Regions from separate parts of the Homo sapiens genome. Here all the other regions are linked to region 3. The links are contacts of gene promoters, found by promoter capture Hi-C in blood cells and fetal thymus (Javierre and others, 2016). All regions are on one chromosome and are shown on one strand. Each heading gives the region's core, a stretch centred on a gene start or on the middle of the fragment in contact. The rest is flanking DNA. Distances are from core to core; before and after follow the strand shown.

The links. Contacts are between HindIII fragments. The CHiCAGO score rates a contact against its expected background, and 5 or more counts as called.
Region 1: a contact is called between a fragment that was not itself captured here and the fragment with the promoter of FLNB-AS1 in region 3, in 1 of 17 cell types (naive B cells). The highest score is 5.7, in naive B cells.
Region 2: a contact is called between a fragment that was not itself captured here and the fragment with the promoter of FLNB-AS1 in region 3, in 2 of 17 cell types (M1 macrophages and megakaryocytes). The highest score is 7.4, in M1 macrophages.

What each region holds. Positions count from the first base shown.
Region 1 is chr3:58,510,284-58,512,983 of GRCh38, forward strand. All of the region lies in intron 13 of ACOX2 (acyl-CoA oxidase 2), which reads right to left. It also overlaps the pseudogene RPL27P9. Among named protein-coding and RNA genes, the nearest start is that of KCTD6, 20 kb to the left of the region's middle. The HindIII fragment of the contact is 226 bases long and covers 1,243-1,468 here.
Region 2 is chr3:57,888,543-57,891,412 of GRCh38, forward strand. It overlaps SLMAP (sarcolemma associated protein), which reads left to right. Exons shown (of 25, transcript NM_001377540.1): 15 at 1,499-1,558. Among named protein-coding and RNA genes, the nearest start is that of FLNB, 120 kb to the right of the region's middle. The HindIII fragment of the contact is 170 bases long and covers 1,377-1,546 here.
Region 3 is chr3:58,169,156-58,171,905 of GRCh38, forward strand. It overlaps FLNB-AS1 (FLNB antisense RNA 1), which reads right to left and starts at 1,480. Exons shown (of 2, transcript NR_135534.1): 1 at 1,342-1,480. It overlaps FLNB (filamin B), which reads left to right. Exons shown (of 46, transcript NM_001457.4): 45 at 435-638; 46 at 1,420-2,750. The coding sequence ends at 1,607. LOC124909485 reads left to right here and starts at 2,622. Exons shown (of 6, transcript XM_047449435.1): 1 at 2,622-2,718. The coding sequence starts at 2,622. The HindIII fragment of the contact is 5,353 bases long and covers 1-1,804 here.

The DNA.
Region 1 (2,700 bases), core at 106-2,605, 340 kb after region 3:
GTCTCACTTCATTCCTTATCCAGCTGAAATTCCATGTTCTATTACTCTCTCAAAAATACATTCAACAGGCCGGGCGCGATGGCTCACACCTGTAATCCCAGCAATTTGGGAGACCGAGGCAGATGGATCAGCTGAGGTCAGGAGTTCGAGACCAGCCTGGCCAACATGGCGGAACCCTGTCTCTACTAAAAATACAAAAATTAGCCAGGTGTGGTGGTGTGTGCCTGTAGTCTCAGCTACTGGGAAGGCTGAGGTGGGAGAATCGCTTGAACCTGGGAGTCAGAGGTTGCAGTGAGCTGAGATCGTGCCGCTGCACTCCAGCTTGGGCAACAGAGCAAGACTCCCGCTCAAAAAAAAAAAAAAAAAAAAAAAAAAAAAAAATATATATATATATATATATATATATATATATATATATATATATATACACACACACACACACACACACACACACACACTCAACGATTTTTCTTGCTTTGTCATACCTGTTTAGCAAAACGCATACCTCTTTGTCTTTAGTTTTCCACCCACTTTGTGCCACCACCTTTGTAACTATACATGGCTGGAAAAAACAATCATAACTGGTGTAATAAGGGCTCAAGTGGGCCCTGATTGCAGCTCAGCAATCGTATTACATTGCTATATTTACTCATTGTTCATTTACTGTTTCTTTTTCTTAGGCAGTTATTTCTTACCATCTCTTTGATCCTCAGATTGACACTATCCACCTTTCCCATCTCTTTTGCCTGGATGGCTTTACATCGTATTTCACTAATGAAGTGGAAGCAGTAAGAGAATCTGTGTAAGTTCCCACCCTTGCATTTATACATACAATGCTTTCTCTCTTCAGGCTCTCAGCTCAGGCCTCAGTCCCTCCTTGTCTACTAGATGTCTTTTCCTCTTGCATACTGGAGAACAACATTCTCCTGCCTTTCTCCAACAACATCAAAATTCCCCTCAGGGGTAAAAAGTTAGTGGAAATGCCCTTCTTTCTTTTTACTGTAGGCCTGGCTGGTTGCTGTCAAAATGGGCAAGTTCATGAAAAAGTGGGAAAGTGGTGCTGGTCCTGGCTGGATGCTACTCTGGACGCAAAGCCATTATCATGAAGGACATTGATGATGGCACCTCAGTCCATTCTTACAGTCATGCTTTGGTAGCTGGAATTGACTGCTATCCTCACAAAGTGACAGCTGCCATAGGCAAGAAGATCTCCAAGAGGTCAAGGATCAAGTCTTTTGCAAAAGCTTATAACTGCAATCACCTCATGCCCACAAGGTACTCTGTAGATATCCTCTTGGACAAACTGTCATCAACAAGGATCTCCTCAAAGACCTTGCTCTTAAACACAAGGCGTGATGGGAGGCCAAGATCAAGTTCAAAGAAAGGTACAAGAAAAAAAAATCCCCTCTCTACTGGATCATTTCCATCAGTATACAAACAGACAATCATTTCTCCCATCTTAAACACAAGCTTTTGACTCTATTTCCTTCTCCATCACCTTGGCTCCCGTTTAGGACAAAACTCCCTGAAAGTGTTATGTGTGTTTATGCTTATGATTTCCAATTTTCACATTCTCTCCTGAACTGGATCTGTTCATGTTTTTACTCCCACCACTCCACAGAAATAGCTCTTGCCACGGTTACTTCCTTATTATCTTGCGAGGGTCTCAAGACTGAGTACTTGGACCTCTTCTCTTCATGCACTCCTTGTGATGTTCTTCTCAAGGCTTTAAATATCAACCATACGCCAATGACTTCCAAACTTATCCCTCCAGTGTCCCCTGCTTACCAACATCTGTACTTGGATTTCTGATAGGCTCTTCAAAAGTAATGTATCTGAACCCAAACTCCTTCCCGTCCACCCTGCCCAAACCTGGGCCTCCTGTAGTCTTCCGCATTTATAGTAAATGGCAGCTCTGCCCTTCTGACCAAAAACCTTGATTCTTCTCTTCTTTCTCACCATACATCTAATCTGTCAGCAAATCCTGTTCTGCCTTCAAGATATATTCAAACTTCAACCATTCCCACCACCTCCAGCACTGTCACTGCTCCAATCCACTATCATCACTCACTTGGATGATTGCATTAGCGATCCAGCTGATCTCCCTGCTTTTCACTCTTAGTTCTTAATATGGCAGCTGGAGCAAGCCTTTAAAAATACACATCAGATTCTTTTAGGTTGTGTCTATCCAATGCTCAAAACCCTCCCATTCTATCCCATGCTCAAAACCCTCGCATTCTCTTAAGTCTTTGCAATGATCTACCTTACCGTCTCTTCCCACCCCCTACTGTACTCCCTTAACTCTCTGCCCTCTGCCGTCATTTTCCACCGCAGTCATGCCATTCCTGCCCCTGTGGCCTCTTCTGTGTTCTCTGGATGGATATGCCAAGCACACTCTGGTCTCCAACATTTGTACTGTCATGCACTGCATAATGATGTTTTGGTCAATGATGGACCATGTATATGATGGCGGTCCCATGACATTATGATAGAGCTGAAAAATTCCTATTGCTTAGTGATTGATGTTAGAATTGGCTGCAGTATTCAGAACAGCAACATGCTTTGCAGGTGTGACTGTACGAGCAATAGGCTATACCATTTAGGCTTGTGTAAGTACACTCTGTGATGTTCACATGATGACAGACTCACCTGAAGACACATTTCTCAGAACGGATCCTCCAGTCATTAAGTGATGCATGA
Region 2 (2,870 bases), core at 212-2,711, 280 kb before region 3:
GGAGGCAGAGGTTGCAGTGAGCTGAGATTGTGTCACTGCACTCCAGCCTGGTGACAGAGTGAGACTGTCTCAAAAAAAAAAAAATAGTGATTATAGATTGACAAAATGCAACTCTTGAGGATGGTAGTAGAAAATGGCAAAATTTAACCGTGTAAAATAGATTCTCAATAAATATCTAAAATGGAAAAATAAAATCAATGTATTATTTAGAAATATAAATGTAAGTATCAGAAGAAATGGCTAAAAGTTGTAGGAAGTGAATTTTAGGAATGGAGTGAAGTAGGACAGAGGACAGGTAGGACAGCTTACATTATACATCTTAATCAAAATCTGTTACTTTCTGTTTTTTTTTCTTTTTTTCTGTTTTTTTTTGAGATGGAATCTCGCTCTGTCATACAGTGGCGCCATCTCTGCTCACTGCAAGCTCCGCCTCCTGGGTTCACACCATTCTCCTGCCTCAGCCTCCCGAGTAGCTGGGACTACAGGCACCCGCCACCATGCCCAGCTAATTTTTTGTGTTTCCAGTAGAGACAGGGTTTCATCATGTTAGCCAGGATGGTCTCTGTCTCCTGACCTCGTGATCCACCCGCCTTGGCCTCCCAAAGTGCTGGGATTACAGGCGTGAGCCACTGCGCACGGCCCCTCTTTCTGATTTTAAAAAGTCAGAGACAAAGTGCCACATACTGCAAAGAGCCTATGAGAAATGAAAATTAAGAAAAGGAGCCATGGGCATTGGGAGACTAGAGGCTATAATGATATTGGAGCAGTTTCAATGGTTGAGTGGTGGATGTAGACCAAGTTGCAGTTGGTTGTAAAGCAAGAGAATAGAAAATTTTCTTCACATATATTACAAATGAATAAATTGAAGGAGACCAACTGACATACAGGAGTAAATAAGGGGACACAGAATAGATATATCCTCTTCAATGAAACGTGGAATATGAAAATATGACTTTAAATTATAAAAAAGTAGCATTATACATTTACAGAAAATCCCCCATAAAACAAAACAAAATTTTTTTATTTCTTTGAATAGCTTTTCTAAAATGATTCATTTACTGAAATACATTATATAGGCATCTCTGCTGAATTATGTCAGCAGAGAACAGTAAACTATCGATATAACTTAATTTTTATTACTTCTTCATTTGAATAAATACCTTTTCATAAATCTTTTATTTTAACTTAATAGCCTTGATCTAAAGAGGATTGCTTTATTTCTTCTGAGCCCTTTTTATAAAAATATCTAGGCTTTTAAAATAAGGTGAAAATAAAAGGCAAATTGTCTGCCTGCCCCTAGTTTTCTGCATTAACGTGATTGCTCCGTCATAGTTCCAGTTCTCTTAGTTCCCCTTCCAGATTCAAGTTTTTATTCAAGCTTGGTCATAGGAGTAATGTTATCATCTTTAAATTTGGTCATGGAATGTGTTACACTGCCCAGCTCAGGGAAATGCTGCTCAGTTTGGGCTTGGATGGTAACGTTTATTTTCCTTGGCAGAGAAGCTGATCGTCGAAGGGCATCTAACCAAAGCGGTAGAAGAAACAAAGCTTTCAAAAGGTTTGTTTTCTGTTTTTCTATGTTTTTTGACAGTTCTTTTGGATAATGAAGGTTAGTGTATATTTTCAAGGTTATAGTATTTTAACCATCAGTTTACTTCTTATAGCTCACAAAATAGCAAGCCAGTAACAGTATCAGATAATATATAAAATAATCAGACTTCTGTTTTAAGAAGGGTATCGTAACTGGAATGTGTCTTTTTAAGTGGATGTATATTTATGGTTTTTTGAATGTTAGTACTTGATATAGGTTTCTTTAGGTATTAAAGATTTGTTGCAATCTCTGTCATTCCCAGCATTAATTTCAGCTTTGATCTCAAATTTTAATCAAACACAATGTAAGTCGTTTGTGATACAACTTAAGTGAAACATGCTTGCACTTCTATTTTGGGGGTTACAGTACCTTTAAAATCTCTTATGATGTTTAATATTTCCTTAATTTTTGGCATCTCAGTTTGATTTAAACAAAATTAATGACTTTTGTGAATGTAGAATCTTCTTATATTTTATGAGTAGTCCAGTAATTGCCCAAAGTAGTTTATTGTGTTAATTCTGTTACAGTTGTCAGAGAAGAAAAGTGAGTTTTAAAGCACCATATTGTCAAGTCACTTTTATACATAGGGAAATTAGGCAAATAAATTTGGTGGCATGTGTTTATCATAGTAGAACTTTCATTAGACTATACCAGTATAAAATTTAAAACTAGATTCACAGTCCTTTTGGCCAATTAAAACATTGAGTTACAAAAGTTTGAGATACTTAATTTTAGTACATTCTATTTTATTAAAGTAACTGGATTCATTTGACTTTTTTAACCATGTAAGAGGATGGTGTTATTTCAAATATCTCGTGGTTTCCATTCTGAATTTTGTGCACGGCAGATGCCATATTTGGGGAAAAAATGCATAGAATATGCATCATTAATATTGTTTTGGCAAACAGGCATTGAGTTTCAGAACAGTGAACTATTTTTAGTACATATGGCAATTTTTTTCACCTTATTAAAGTGAGATGAGAACAGACCTTAAAATAGCTTTTACCTCACCATCCAAATACCTATTCAGATTAGTTGGTTGAATAGCCAGCACTTTGAAGTAGAGCCTTAGGAAAAAAAAAAAAAATGCTTCTTTAATTAAAATATCTTGCTATCTTATCACTTATATTTAATGCATTCTAAATTAGAAAATATTTTCTTGAAATTATGTTTTATCATTATTGGAAAAGTTTTGTGCATTACTGATTTCCCTTTTTAATTTATTGTTTTTATCTTATTGATACATAATGTGCATATTTTCAGGATATGTTTTATAGTT
Region 3 (2,750 bases), core at 230-2,729:
CGCAGGAAAATTAGAAAATTCAGATAGAAAAATCATCCTTTCTCATCCACAGAATCATTTTTTGATATTTCATTATATGTCATCCCAAACTTTTACACTGCTTATACATAGACTATTTTATGTCAATAGAAAGATGTGAATTCCACAGGCACATCTTTGGTGGGTAGGGGGTGGGGGGATTGGGAGGGTCCTTGGCCTTGTCAGCCAAGGCCAGACTCATCCATTTGCCCAGAAAGCCAGATCCTAGTTGTATGGGGGTGGGATCCTAGGGGTTTAGAAGACATTATGGGTGTGAGATACAGGTGTGGTGGCTTTTGTGTTGGGGTGCGCGGGCTCTCCTGGGGTTACTGTGTAGGGTACTCGCCTGTCCTCTGGCTGAGAGACCCCTCTTGATCTGGCCATTCATGCCTGTCCCCCTCCCTCCTGTATCTTAGGCCAGCGTCTAGTTAGCCCTGGCTCAGCCAACGAGACCTCATCCATCCTGGTGGAGTCAGTGACCAGGTCGTCTACAGAGACCTGCTATAGCGCCATTCCCAAGGCATCCTCGGACGCCAGCAAGGTGACCTCTAAGGGGGCAGGGCTCTCAAAGGCCTTTGTGGGCCAGAAGAGTTCCTTCCTGGTGGACTGCAGCAAAGCTGGTAGGTGTCTGGGCCTTTTCAAGGGTGGGGTGGGGCAGGGGCAGGCTGGGCACCCTGGGTACACTGGCCTTCCCTGCTGAGGTCTCCTGCAGTGCCCACCCCCATGTAGGCCAGCCGTTTGCAAGTAACCATCGTCATGACCCTGTTCTCCTGCACTTAATATTTTTAAATGATTTCCTTCTCTTTTGCCTTTTGAACTTGGGTATTTATTTGGGTTTCAAGGGTCGGTTGCCTGGGTTCTGGCATCCAGTACACCTGGGCTGGAAACCTAGTACCGCCACTTCATTCATTCATTCGTTTGTTCTAAAACTTATTTAGCCATGTGACCTTGGAAAGTTATTAAATCTCTTTCCAAAAGTCAGTTTCCTCTTCTCGGAAGTACCTTCCTTAAGGTGCTTGTGAGAGTAAACAAGAAGATTCTCATAGCCAACACTTAGAATAGCCCTTACTGTGTGCTAGGTTTTGACACCCATAACTCTTAAACCTCACAACTAGTTCGTGAGGTATGTGCTGTTCTCATTCCCTGTTTACAGATGGGGAAGCTGAGCTAGGGAGAGGTGAGATTCCAGTCCAAGGTCACCCAGGTAGCAAGTGGCAGGGCAGGGATTCGAACCCACACCGTCAGGCTCTATGAGCCTCTGCTTGTAATTGCCACGCTCTCCCACCTCTTAGGGGCCCCAGCATTATCGTGGAAGCACCTTACCTTTGGCTCTCATATTTCCTCTTCTTCCTGTGCCTGTCCTGATGCATCCGGGTGGAGTAACCACCTTTTGCCTCCTAGGCTCCAACATGCTGCTGATCGGGGTCCATGGGCCCACCACCCCCTGCGAGGAGGTCTCCATGAAGCATGTAGGCAACCAGCAATACAACGTCACATACGTCGTCAAGGAGAGGGGCGATTATGTGCTGGCTGTGAAGTGGGGGGAGGAACACATCCCTGGCAGCCCTTTTCATGTCACAGTGCCTTAAAACAGTTTTCTCAAATCCTGGAGAGAGTTCTTGTGGTTGCTTTTGTTGCTTGTTTGTAATTCATTTTATACAAAGCCCTCCAGCCTGTTTGTGGGGCTGAAACCCCATCCCTAAAATATTGCTGTTGTAAAATGCCTTCAGAAATAAGTCCTAGACTGGACTCTTGAGGGACATATTGGAGAATCTTAAGAAATGCAAGCTTGTTCAGGGGGCTGAGAAGATCCTGAGTACACTAGGTGCAAACCAGAACTCTTGGTGGAACAGACCAGCCACTGCAGCAGACAGACCAGGAACACAATGAGACTGACATTTCAAAAAAACAAAACTGGCTAGCCTGAGCTGCTGGTTCACTCTTCAGCATTTATGAAACAAGGCTAGGGGAAGATGGGCAGAGAAAAAGGGGACACCTAGTTTGGTTGTCATTTGGCAAAGGAGATGACTTAAAATCCGCTTAATCTCTTCCAGTGTCCGTGTTAATGTATTTGGCTATTAGATCACTAGCACTGCTTTACCGCTCCTCATCGCCAACACCCCCATGCTCTGTGGCCTTCTTACACTTCTCAGAGGGCAGAGTGGCAGCCGGGCACCCTACAGAAACTCAGAGGGCAGAGTGGCAGCCAGGCCCACATGTCTCTCAAGTACCTGTCCCCTCGCTCTGGTGATTATTTCTTGCAGAATCACCACACGAGACCATCCCGGCAGTCATGGTTTTGCTTTAGTTTTCCAAGTCCGTTTCAGTCCCTTCCTTGGTCTGAAGAAATTCTGCAGTGGCGAGCAGTTTCCCACTTGCCAAAGATCCCTTTTAACCAACACTAGCCCTTGTTTTTAACACACGCTCCAGCCCTTCATCAGCCTGGGCAGTCTTACCAAAATGTTTAAAGTGATCTCAGAGGGGCCCATGGATTAACGCCCTCATCCCAAGGTCCGTCCCATGACATAACACTCCACACCCGCCCCAGCCAACTTCATGGGTCACTTTTTCTGGAAAATAATGATCTGTACAGACAGGACAGAATGAAACTCCTGCGGGTCTTTGGCCTGAAAGTTGGGAATGGTTGGGGGAGAGAAGGGCAGCAGCTTATTGGTGGTCTTTTCACCATTGGCAGAAACAGTGAGAGCTGTGTGGTGCAGAAATCCAGAAAT